Linked DNA regions of Homo sapiens: regions 1, 3 and 4 are each linked to region 2. Evidence: promoter capture Hi-C in human tissues and cell types (Jung and others, 2019). All regions are on one chromosome and are shown on one strand. Each heading gives the region's core, a stretch centred on a gene start or on the middle of the fragment in contact. The rest is flanking DNA. Distances are from core to core; before and after follow the strand shown.

Region 1 (2,907 bases), core at 286-2,785, 460 kb after region 2:
TTTTCACTTCATTTTCAACCAATAAAATCAAATTCATTTAGATCTATGAATAATACTGAAAAAATAATGCTTATTCTCTTACATTTTAAATAATGTGCCTTCATCCTCAACTTTACATTAACTGACTCATTTCAGTATCTAAATGAATTGAGCTCTCATTTGAAAAACAGAAGGTACAACTATATAGAATTTTTAGGATAAAAAATGTTCTGGATAGAAAAATCCTTTTGATGTTTCAAAATAACACAGATTCTCAGTATAGTTTTCAGTTTGGCAACTAAACCATTATTAAGTACCCAAGGTTTTTAAAAAATAACAAAAGATAATAACATGATTTTTAAATACAAAGTTATATAGGAGCAACTCATATCTGTGGATCATCCTTACACAAAGTTGTTTCTCACTAGAAAAATCCCTAAATATTTGTCATAAAATAAAAACTCCATTATCAAAAATTAGTTTAAGATAGAAATCTATGCACTTTAATGATTGCCAGAATTGCCCAGCATAGCTTCAGTAAAATAGAGAATTGTCTAGAAAATACAATCTCCAAAATGTGTGCAAGTACTGCAAACCGGACAGACCGGGGCAGGGCAAGGCCCTTGAAACCAAGTCCTCCTTGAGCACCTTTCCCAGGTTAGAAACCCCTCTTCAGCCTGTGCTTCGCACGTTTCCTTCAGCGTGCCGCCATTCAGACTGCGCCACTTACGTCCCAGTGCCACGCTGCGTGGATCAAGTGTCAACGGGAAAGTATGAGTTAGGCAAGCGCTTTTTTTTTAAGCTGTAAACGCTTCACATGACTGGCCCCGTAAGAAATTGTGGGAGCTTAGATGAGCCTGGAGCTTTTCAGGAACTGGATGAGGACTCTGTACACAAATGTGTACTGGCAGAGAGTCTGCACCAGCATCATTCTCTGTTGCCTCAGCATGTCCAGCACTCTCGGGATGTCCAGCACCTAGGTTGAGAGAAACGGTAATGAAGATAATGTGTTCCCCTGGGGAGACAGAAAGGATGGGAGGACACGAGTGTCCTGGCAGAAACCTGGTTGGGAGATGGACAGTCTCTTTTCCACCTTAGCGTCTTCTAGAAATAAGCCATGATTGCCTACTTCTGATTTTCTGATTAGTTTTAGCTATAAATAGAATGTCCATGCAGACTATTTCTTCAACATTCCCCAGGTGTAGCTCACTGACTTTGTATGGTTGGACATAATTACCATGTCTCACTAAATACCAAAATTATACAAAAACATAGTGTGCTAAGTGCTATCAGTATCTAGCTATTTCCCTCAAGGGCTCTGGGCAGCATGAATCATCCTTGAAATGTAAACAGAAAAAGAATTCTGAGCTCAAATTTGAAAAACCCTGGGCAAGTAAAACAAAATTAAACAGCTTTATTTATCGTATGACTTCTTAGTCTTTAATATGCTAATTGGTACTGAGACTCTCCAAGAAGACACAGCCTTTTGCAGGGAACATTAGTAACATCTTGAGGCCACCACAGTCCAAGGAAATGTGCGCAAAAAGAGCTATTAAGTCACTATGTCCCTCTCTTCCCCAGCCTCATTTCCACCCAAAAAGGCCAGGTGATCATAAGCGCCATCACCTCATTGTGTTCCAGGCAGGCGATCATGATCTCCGACAAAATCACCACGCCAGTCCTTCCTACCCCAGCACTGCAGTGGACCAACAACGGAGGGTTGGGGCTTTGGGGATCACTTGTGCTATTTGTATGGCGTCGAACAGACTGGATCTCTTCAAGATATGCTGTGGAAAATCAATGAAATAGAAAAGTACTCAAGGATCAAGGCGTATCACATTGTTGACTCAATCTTCATATTCTCTCCACTGATTAAGAGGACTGCAGATAAAGAGCACTGGGTGCCAGTGAACCAAACCCAACCACAAAGGGACAGTGTGACCCTGAGCAAGTCACTACCTCTGTCCACTTTCTGATCTACAAAATGAAATGACGGAGATACTGAGTCAGCTGTGGCATTCTACTCACTACCAAATCATAATTTATAAACCTCGTTAACCCTCCCCAAAACACTTGTATTCTTTATGTTAAAACAAGTCCGAAGCTTATATGAGATAACATAAAGGAAATATTTCGGAAACATAAATGTTCCTCTCTGTTTAACACCTCCAGAGGCAGCTGTCCTCGGAACAAAGTTAAAGTCACTCACATAAAAATCCCTTGAGGTCTTCTGGACAGCCATGTTCAGGCCAGTCTGTGTATTGGAGGTGCCAGACGGTCCTCTCTTGCCCAGTAAGGAGGTGCTTCATCTTCAGGCCTGTGGTGGCATAGCAGCCAGAGTCTGTGCGGAACCGGGTCGTGATCTTAAACCTTCCATAGGTGACAGTGTTGTGCCTGGAACCAAGTCGTGGCCAGTACCTAAAGCTCTTCTCCCTTCCACCCTCCTGTTAAAGATGAGCATGGTTAAATGACTCGAGATCCGGCAATGGATGCCTTTCTCACATAGACGGCACATCTGAAACAGAACCACAACCCTACCCTGCCTTTTTCTCCACAGGTCAGGATTCCAGATGATTAACATTAACTGTTCTTCAGAGGCTGAGAAAATCACTTAAGAGAAATAAGTACCTACCTCTTCTGCTGTCACCATTGCTATAATTGCAATTCCCTGTTCCCATACCATCTGCCAAAAATCTTGACAGGTATTCTGTAATGGTCCCTGTGTGGCAATATAATCCCATTCGATTCCACTGACAGAGACCTGGGATTAGAAAAGGTTAAAAAAATTGATGTGTGGGTATAATATACATAGGTATGTATGCATGCATTCATGGTAGTACTAAAAAAGTTTTTTTAAAAAAGTAAAAAGTAAAAAAGTAGTAAACTGGATTATTCAGCAGAATAAGGAAAGACTTTTCATCTTTTCCC
Region 2 (2,879 bases), core at 286-2,785:
GTAATGAAATACCTACGTAACAATGCACTTGTACCCCGAACTTAAAAAAAGATATATCATGTATAGAAACCACAGATAAGCAGATGTACGAAACCAAGCAAAAATGAGAACTTTGAATTACAGTCACAAGTAAACTGAAATCGTTACTTTTCATTTTTGTAAAACTTCAAGACATTTATTGTTAATTTTTTACTTTATACTTAATTTTTATTATTTCAGTAACAATATATTGATTTATAATTTACTATATGCTAAATTACTTTATAAACTATCCTGTGCTTTATAAATGTAAGGTATTAGTTTTATTATTCTCAAAGAAAGACCTACAACGGAAGTATTGAAAATCTTTACATTCCTGATATACCCTGATCAACTTCAATATGGAAAGCCTTGCTTATATACAGGCTAATCTTTTCTATCTCTGGGTAGGGAGAAAAAAACAACAAAAAAAAAACACCAGCAACAACCCTTAATGTCCTTTAACAAACACAGATTCAAAATGTCCTGATTACATCTTTAAAATTAAGTCAAATGTTTTCATCCCAAATAAATTCTGTTCTTTCAAATAATATTTTCCCTTCATTTCTAATAAAAGTTTATGAGGGCAAGATTCAAAAGTGATATTTCTGACTTTTTTATATATCAATAGTAAGAAAGTTATAGGAGCTAATTTCACTTCATATTAAACCACTTATAGATTTGGCATTAACTTTAACTTGCTAAAGTACAAGAGTTTTTATAATAACAATGTAAGTCTTAAATAAAATTTTCAAGTTTCATAAAATTATTTGTCTCAGCTAGTTAATTCAACTGGTTTTTAGCCATCTCTGTTTCCAAGAGGAGAGAATCAAAGGAGAAAATAGTTCTACAATCAAATACTATATATCTAATCCCATTAGTCTCTCAAAAAAAAAAAGAAAAGAAAGACGGTATGAGGTTGGCTACCTTAACCCCTGCCTTAAGCAGCACAATATCCATCATTAAACCCCTCAGCCTCAATTCTCCCTTTTCTGTTTTTGTCCCAGGAACTTTATCACCCTGAATCTACCTACAATATCCTCCCCTATCTCACACATCCAAATGGTTCATTCTATTTTATCTGTACCCCTCTTGAAGTACTTCTTCATTTTGCCATTGCATTACAATCATTATTAAACATGTCTTTCTCCTTTACTAGGTAAAAAAAGCTGCTTTTGGTTGATAGCCAGTTCGTATACATCTCCCCGCACACTGCTGGCATGATGAGTGAATGAATGAATGAATGAATGAATGAACAAAGAAATAAATAAAATATTTAACATATATTCCATTAAGTAAAGGGCATATAATATAATATCAGTACATACTTGTAATTAAGATGCAATGAGACAAGTGAGTTATAAAAATTACAGTACAGTAAACAATAAATAAAAACATCTTTAAAAGTATTTAAGAGACTTTTTTTGTTCAAACTTGGATAACGCACACCCTTCTCATTGAGATGCTGCTTCCTCATTGGTTTGTGCTGAAATATGAGTGCAATTTCCTGTCCCCTCAGCAGTGTTGGTTTCTCTTCTTGACTTGATGCAGGCACAGATTTATCAAGCTCCTCAGTCAACAAACACATCACCGGAAGAAATATGGGTAAGTATAAGATTAAAAAATAAAATAATATTTTAAAGTAGATAACATGCTTTGGCATAATTGTCAGTGATGTTCGCAACATTCTTCCTGGTTTAGGCTGTATAAATGTGGTAATGCAAAGCATGATAAGAGAGAAAGAAATGAGGAAGACACATGGTTTCCTCTACTTTGAGCAGTGGTAAAGGGCCAAACTTTAAATTTAGAACTAATTAGGCAAAACCATAGATATAGAAAAAGGGGGTTGTTCATACTTTATTTTCTTTTCAGGAAACAGTGCTTTGGCAAACTTCATTCAGTATTAGGAAGAAGCCTACCAGCCCCTGGCTTTAGAGCTATCTGGCACCAATCCCTCATCTGTACAATGGTCCAGTAAATACTTTTTATATCCATCAGAAAAAAATGTGATATTAGGAAAGAATATTTCCAGTATTAATAAATGTCAAGTAATAATTATTAGTTAATAAGTGACTACCACAGTGCCTGAAATATATAGTAGAGTCTTAATAAGTAACTATTAAACTGATAGATGAAAGCAAGCATTTTCTATAACACTGTAGGAAAATATTGTACTTTTGGTCATCGTCATCAATGATTTGTACTATTTTTAGATCTGTTCAAGAATAGATATACTTTAATATACTGTAGATTGTCTTTTTTGACATCTGGTAAAAATTAAAAAATTAAAAACTCACCAAAATTTCTCAGTGCTTGTTCTAAAAACAATTTTCTCAAAATTTGATTAAAGGAGGCAAAATAATATCTGAAAAGATATGTGAATACTGTAATAGGAATTATATACAGTATTCCACTAAAATCTCAGATCCACCCAAATTAAATGAACAACTATTATCTGCAGAGCCTAGTATTATACGTGAAGTGTTACCATATAAATTACACTCTGAGCACCTCCAGCTTTTCTGCTATGCTGTGGCTAGATGACTAAAGATGATTTCTTTTCAGAAAATGTAGGGGACAGCACAAAGATTGGTGCAGACTACCAATGTCATTAAAACAATATTACCAGCTAACGTACAGTGAATGCCTCCCATGTGCTAGGAACTTTGCTTCATATGTCGTTTCATTTAACCCTCACAACAATCTTAGAAACTGGGTACTAACTTACACATGTGAAAACTGGAACTTAGAGAGGTGAAGAAACACCAATGGGCCCAGAGTGCTGTTGAGAGGCATTCGAATTGTCTCCAGAGCCCACGCTCTTAACCACAAGCCTGTACTGCCTCTGCGTCACTACAAAG
Region 3 (3,168 bases), core at 622-3,121, 360 kb after region 2:
TGAGGTGAGATAATAGCTCATTACAGTTTTGACTTGCATTTCTCTGATGATTAGTGATGTTGAGCACACTTTGTTTAACTTTTATTTTAAGTTCAGGGGTACATGTGCAGGAATCATAGGTTTGTTACATAGGCACACGTGCATCATGGGGTTTGTTGTACCAATTATTTCATCACCCAGGTATTAAGCTGAGTATCCTTAGTTATTTTTCCTGATCCTCTCCCTCCTCCCTGCCTCCACCCTCCAATAAGCCCTGGTATGTGTTGTTCCCCTCTATGGGTCCATGTGTTATCATTTAGCTCCTACTTATAAGTGAGAAGATGTGATATTTGTTTTTCTGTTCTTGCATTAGTTTGCTAAGGATAATGGCCTCTAGCTCCATCTATGTCCCTACAAACGACATCATCTTGTTCTTTTTTATGGCTGCATAGTATTCCATGGTGTACATGTCCACATTCTTTATACAGTCTATCACTGATAGGCATTTGGGTTGATTCCATCTCTTTGCTATCATGAATAGTGCTGCAATAAACATATGCATGCATGTATCTTTATAATAGAATGACTTATATTCCTTTGGGTATATACCTAGTAATGATATTGCTGGGTTGAATGGTGTTTCTGACTTTAGATCTTTGAGGAATCTCCACACTGTCTTCCAGAATGGTTGAACTCATTTACACTCCCACCAACAGTGTACAAGTGTTCCTTTTTCTCTACAACCTCACTGGCATCTGTTATTTTTTGACTTTCTAATAATCACCATTCTGACTGGTGTGAGATGTTATCTCATTGTGGTTTTGAATTGATTTGCATTTCTCTAATGATCAGTGATGTTGAGATTTTTTTCATATGCTTGTTGACCACATGAATGCCTTCTTTTGAGAAGTATCTGTTCATGTCTTTTGCCCACTTTTTAATGAGGTTCTTTGTTTTTTTCTTGTAAATTTGTTTAAATTTCTAATAGATGCTGAATACTAGATCTTTGTCAGATGCATAGTTTGCAAAAATTTCCTGTCATTCTGTAGGTTGCTTGTTTACCCTGTTGATAATTTCTTTTGCTGTGCAGAAGCTCTTTAATTAGATTACTTTTGTCAATTTTTGCTTTTGTTGCAATTGCTTCTAGTGTCTTTGATGAAATCTTTGCCCAGAGTATACTTTCATATACCTGTTTGCCATTTGTATGTCTTCTTTTGAGAAATGCCTATTCAGATATTCTGCACACTTTTTAATTAGTTTATTAGATTTTTCTTTCTTATTGAGTTGTTTGAACTCCTTAGATATTCTAGTTGTTAATCCGTTGTCAGAGGAATAGTGTGCAAATCTTTTCTCCCATTCTGTGGGTTGTCTCTTCACTTTATTTTTTCCTTTGCTGTGCAGAAGCTTTATAACTTGATGTAATCCCATTTGTCTATATTTGCTTTGGTTGCCTGTGCTAATGGGGTATTGCCCAAAAAGTCTTTGCCCAGACCAATGTCCTGGTGTTTCCCCAATGTTTTCTTGTAGTAGTTTCATAGTTTGAGGTGTTAGATTTATTACTTAAATGCATTTTGACTTGATTTTGTTATATGGTGAGAGATAGATGTTTAGTTTCTGCATATGGATAACCTGTTTTCCCAGAACCATTTATTGAAGAGACTGTCAATTTCCCAATGCGTGTTCTTGAAACCTTTGTTGAAAATGAGTTAGCATAAACGTATGGATTTATTTCTGGGCTCTTCATTCTGTTCCACCAGTCTATGTGTCTGTTTTTATGCCAGAATCATGCTATTTTGGTTACTATAGCTCTGTAGTATAATTTGAAGTCAGATTATATGATTGCTCCAGTTTTGCTCTTTTTGCTTAGGATAGCTCTGGCTATTCTGGGTCTTTTGTGGTTGCATATACATTTTAGGATCGTTTTTTCATTTATGTGAAGAATGTCATTGGTATTTTGATAGAGATTGTATTGAATCTGTAGATTGTTTTCGGTAGTATAGACATTTTAACAACATCAATTTTTCCAATCCATGAACATGGAATATCTTTTCATTTTCTCATGTCCTCCTCAATTTCTTTCATCAATTTCTTTTATAGTTTTCACTACAGAGATCTTTCAGTTCTTTGGATAAATTAATTGCTAGATATTGTATTTTATTTGTAGCTATTGTAATTGGTATTTATAAGCTATTGTAATATTGACTTGCAAAAATTAGCCTGTAAGTACTAGACAGATGATTGGCAAGATGGCCAAATAGGAACAGCTCCAGTCTGCAGCTTCCAGCCAGACCAATGCAGAAGGTGGGTGATTTCTGCATTTCCAACTGAAGTACCCAGTTCATCTCATTGGAACTGGTTAGACTGTGGGTGCAGCCCACAGAGAGCAAGCAGAAGAAAGATGGGGCATTGCCTCATCCAGGGAGCACAAGAGGTTGGAGAACTTCCTCCCCTGACCAAGGGAAGCCATGAGGGACTCTGCTGTGAGGGACAGTGCTATCAAGCCCAGATACAACGCTTTTCCCATGGTCTTCACAACCCACAGACCAGGAGATTCCCTTGGGTGCCTATACCACCAGGGCCCTGGGTTTCAAGCACAAAACTGGGTGGCCATTTGGGCAGACACTGAGCTAGCTGCAGGAGTTTTTTTTTTTGTTTGTTTTGTTTTGTTTTTGTACCGCAGTGGTGCCTGGAATGCCAGCGAGACAGAACCGTTCACTCCTCTGGAAAAGGGGCTGAAGCCAGGGAGGCAAGTGGTCTTGCTCAGCATATCCCATCCTACAGAGCCCAACAAGCTAAGATCCACTGGCTTGAAATTCTCCCTGCCAGCACAGCAGTCTAAAGTCGACCTGGGATGCTCCAGCTTGATGAGGGGAGGGGCATCTGCCATTACTGAGGCTTAAGTAGGTGGTTTGCCCCTCACAGTGTAAACAAAGCTGCCAGGAAGTTCGGACTGGGCAGAGCCCACCACAATGCCAAAAAGCCACTGCAGCAGACTGCCTCTCTGGATTCCTCCTCTCTGGATAAGGCATCTCTGAACAAAAGGCAGCAGCCTCAGTCAGGGGCTTATAGATAAAACTCCCATCTCCCTGGGACAGAGCAACTGAGGGAAGAGGCGGTTGTGGGCACAGCTTCAACAGACTTCAACATTCCTGTCTGCCAGCTCTGAAGCGAGCAGCAGATCTCCCAGCA
Region 4 (3,271 bases), core at 399-2,898, 410 kb after region 2:
TGCACTGTTTTTTCCTCATCTTCGTGGATTTATCTACTTTTGGTCTTTGCTGTTGGTGATCTTTGGATGGGGTCTCTGTGTGGATGTCCTTTTTGTTGATGTTGATGCTATTCCTTTCTGTTTGTTAGTTTTCCTTCTAACAGTCAGGCTTCTCTGCTGCAGGTCTGCCGTAGTTTGCTGGAGGTCCACTCCAGACCCTGTTTGCCTAGGTATCACCAGCGGAGGCTGCAGAACAGCAAAGATTGCTGCCTGTTTTTCCTTCAGGAAGCTTCGTCCCAGAGGGGCACCCGCCATATGCCAGCCGGAGCTCTCCTGTATGAGGTGTCTGTCAACCCCTGCTGGGAGGCATGGGGGTCAGGGACCCACCTGAGGAGGCAGTCTGTCCCTTAGCAGAGCTCAAGCACTGGCTGGGAGATCCGCTGCTCTCTTCAGAGCTGGCAGGCAGGAACATTTAAGTCTGCTGAAGCTGTGCCCACAGCCACCCCTTCTCCCAGGTGCTCTGTCCCAGGGAGTTTTATCTATAAGCCCCTGAGGGAGGCTGCTGCCTTTCTTTCAGAGATGCCCTGCCCAGAGAGGAGGAATCTAGAGAGGCAGTCTGGCTACAGTGGCCTTGTGGCGCTGTGGTGGGCTCCGCCCAGTCTGAACTTCCTGGCGGCTTTGTTTACACTGTGAGGGAAAAACCACCTACTCAAGCCTCAATAAGGTGGATGCCCCTCCCCCCACCAAGCTCTAGAGTCCCAGGTCAACTTCAGACTGCTGTGCTGGCAGGGAGAATTTCACGCCAGTGGATCTTAGCTAGCTGGGTTCTATGGGGTGGAATATGCTGAGCTAGACCATTCGCCTCCCTGGCTTCAGACCCCTTTCCAGGGGAGTGAATGGTTCTGCCTCACTGGCATTCCAGTTGCCACTGGGGTATGGAAAAAAACTCCTATAGCTAGCTCAGTGTCTGCCCAAACAGCCACCCAGTTTTGTGCTTGAAACCCAGGGCCTTGGTGGTGTAGGCACCTGAGGGAATCTCCTGGTCCGTGGGTTGCAAAGACCATGGGTAAAGCATAGTATCTGGGCCAGAGTGCACACCGTTCCTCACAGGATAGTCCCTCATGGCTTCCCTTGGCTAGGGGAAGGAGTTCCCCTACCCCTTGCGCTTCCTGGGTGAGGCAACACCACACCCTGCTTCAGCTCACCCTCCGTGGGCTGCACATATACAGTATTTCATCCTGTATATGTACCACATTTTCTTTATCCAATTCACCATTAATGGACACCCAGGTTGGTTCCATATCTTTGCTATTGTGGATAGTGCTGTGTTGGATATGAGGGCATGTGTCTTTTTGGTAGAATGATTTTTTGGGGGGGGTTTATACATGGTAATGGGATTGCTGGGTTGAATGGTAGGTCTATTTTTAGTTATTTGAGAAGTCTTCAAACTTTCCTCAGTGGCTCAGTCTTCAGCTTTCCTCAGTGGCTGAACTCACATTCCCAAGAACAGTGTGTAATTCCTTTTTCCCCGCAACCTTGCCACATCTACTATTTTTTGACTTCTTAGTAATAGCCATTCTGGCTGGTATGAAATAGTATCTCATTGTGATTTTATTTGCATTTCTCTGATGATTAGTGATGTTGAGTACTTTTTTATTTGTTGGCTGCTTTTATGTCTTCTTTTGATAAGTGTCTATGTCCTTTTCTCACTTTTTAATGGGGTTATTTGTTTTTCTTCTTGCTTTTTTTTTTTTTTTTAAGTTCCTCATAGATTCTTGTATTAGGGTTCTCTAGAGGGACAGAACTAATGAAATATATATATAAAGGGGAGTTTATTAAGTATTAACTCACATGATCACAAGGTCCCACAATAGGCCGTCTGCAGGCTGAGGAGCAAGGAGAGCCAGTCTGAGTTCCACAACTGAAGAATTTGGAGTCCGATGTTTGAGGGCAGGAAGCATCCAGCACAGGAGGAAGATGTAGGCTGTGAGAGTAGGCCAGCCTCAACCCTTCACGTTTTTCTGCCTGCTTTATGTTCGCTCGCAGCTGATTAGATGGTGCCCACCCAGATTAAGGGTGGGTCTGCCTTCCCCAACCCACTGACTCAAATGTTAATCTTCTTTGTCAGCACCCTCACAGATATACCCAGTACCAATACTTTGCATCCTTCAATCCAATCAAGTTGACATTCAGTATTAGCCATCACAATTCTTGATATTAGTTTTTTGTCAGATGCATAGTTTACAAATATATTCTCCCATTCTGTTGGTTGTCTGTTTACTCTGTTGATAGTTTCTTTTGCATTGCACAAGCTTTTTAATTTAATTAGGTCTCACTTGTCAATTTTTGTTTTTGTTGCAATTGCTTTTGAGGACTTGGTCACAAATTCTTTGCCAAGGCCAATGTCCAGCAGAGTATATCCTAGGTTTTCTTATAGAATTTTTATAGTTTTAGGTCTTACATTTAAATCTTTAATCCATCTTGTAGCCTTGTAGTGTAGTTTGAAGTCGGGTAATGTGATGCCTCCAGTTTTGTTCTTTTTGCTTAGGACTGCTCTTTTTTGGTTCCATATAAATTTTAGAATAGTATTTTCAATTTCTGTGAAAAATGATGTGAGTAGTTTGATAGGAATAGTGCTAAATCTCTAGATTGCTTTGGGCAGTATGGACATTTTAATGATATTGACTCTTCCAATCCACGAACATGGAATGTTTTTCCGTTTGTGTGTGTCAGCTCTGATTTCTTTCAGCAGTATTTTGTAATTCTTTTAGATATCCTTCACCTCCTTAGATATTTTCCTAGGTATTTTATTTTGTGTGTGTGTAACTATTGTAAATGAGATTGTGTTCTTGATTTGGCTCTCAGCTTGAATATCATTGGTGTATAGAAATGCTACTGATTTTTGCACATTGATTTTGTGTCCTAAAACTTTACTGGAATCGTTTATTAGTTCAAGAAGCCTTTTGGCAGCATCTTTAGGGTTTTCTAATTATAGAATCATATCATCAGGAAAGAGATAATTTGACTACTACTTTTCCAATTTGGATGTGTTTTATTTCTTTCTCTTACCTAATTACTCTGGCTAGGACTCCAGTAGTATGTTGAATAAGAGTGGTGATAGTGGGCATCCTTATGCTGTTCCAGTTCAAAAGAGGAATGCTTCCAGCTTTTGCTCATTCAGTATGATGTTGGCTGTGGACTTGTAATAGATGGCTCTTATTATTTTGAGGTATGTTCTTTTGATGCCTAATTTGTTGAGGGTTTTTTTTTTTAATCATGAAGGATTGCTAGA

Evidence for each region. The method cuts DNA at HindIII sites, captures the fragments that hold promoters and counts their contacts. A contact is called where the count stands out against the background at its distance.
Region 1: a contact is called between a fragment that was not itself captured here and the fragment with the promoter of GPR65 in region 2, in 1 of the 25 tissues and cell types used here (mesenchymal stem cells).
Region 3: a contact is called between a fragment that was not itself captured here and the fragment with the promoter of GPR65 in region 2, in 4 of the 25 tissues and cell types used here (aorta, bladder, dorsolateral prefrontal cortex and 1 more).
Region 4: a contact is called between a fragment that was not itself captured here and the fragment with the promoter of GPR65 in region 2, in 2 of the 25 tissues and cell types used here (H1 embryonic stem cells and dorsolateral prefrontal cortex).

The regions. Positions count from the first base shown.
Region 1 is chr14:88,467,311-88,470,217 of GRCh38, forward strand. PTPN21 (protein tyrosine phosphatase non-receptor type 21) reads right to left here. Exons shown (of 19, transcript NM_007039.4): 16 at 2,612-2,740; 17 at 2,189-2,423; 18 at 1,606-1,766; 19 at 1-955. The coding sequence ends at 827. It also overlaps a transcript of SPATA7 not described here. Among named protein-coding and RNA genes, the nearest start is that of SPATA7, 83 kb to the left of the region's middle. The HindIII fragment of the contact is 3,373 bases long and covers 1-2,907 here.
Region 2 is chr14:88,003,600-88,006,478 of GRCh38, forward strand. GPR65 (G protein-coupled receptor 65) reads left to right here and starts at 1,536. Exons shown (of 2, transcript NM_003608.4): 1 at 1,536-1,623. RefSeq lists an enhancer at 1,951-2,120. The HindIII fragment of the contact is 6,432 bases long and covers 1-2,879 here.
Region 3 is chr14:88,367,335-88,370,502 of GRCh38, forward strand. No RefSeq gene overlaps it. Among named protein-coding and RNA genes, the nearest start is that of SPATA7, 17 kb to the right of the region's middle. The HindIII fragment of the contact is 5,913 bases long and covers 1-3,168 here.
Region 4 is chr14:88,410,502-88,413,772 of GRCh38, forward strand. The region is part of intron 4 of SPATA7 (spermatogenesis associated 7); the gene reads left to right. Among named protein-coding and RNA genes, the nearest start is that of SPATA7, 26 kb to the left of the region's middle. The HindIII fragment of the contact is 4,550 bases long and covers 1-3,271 here.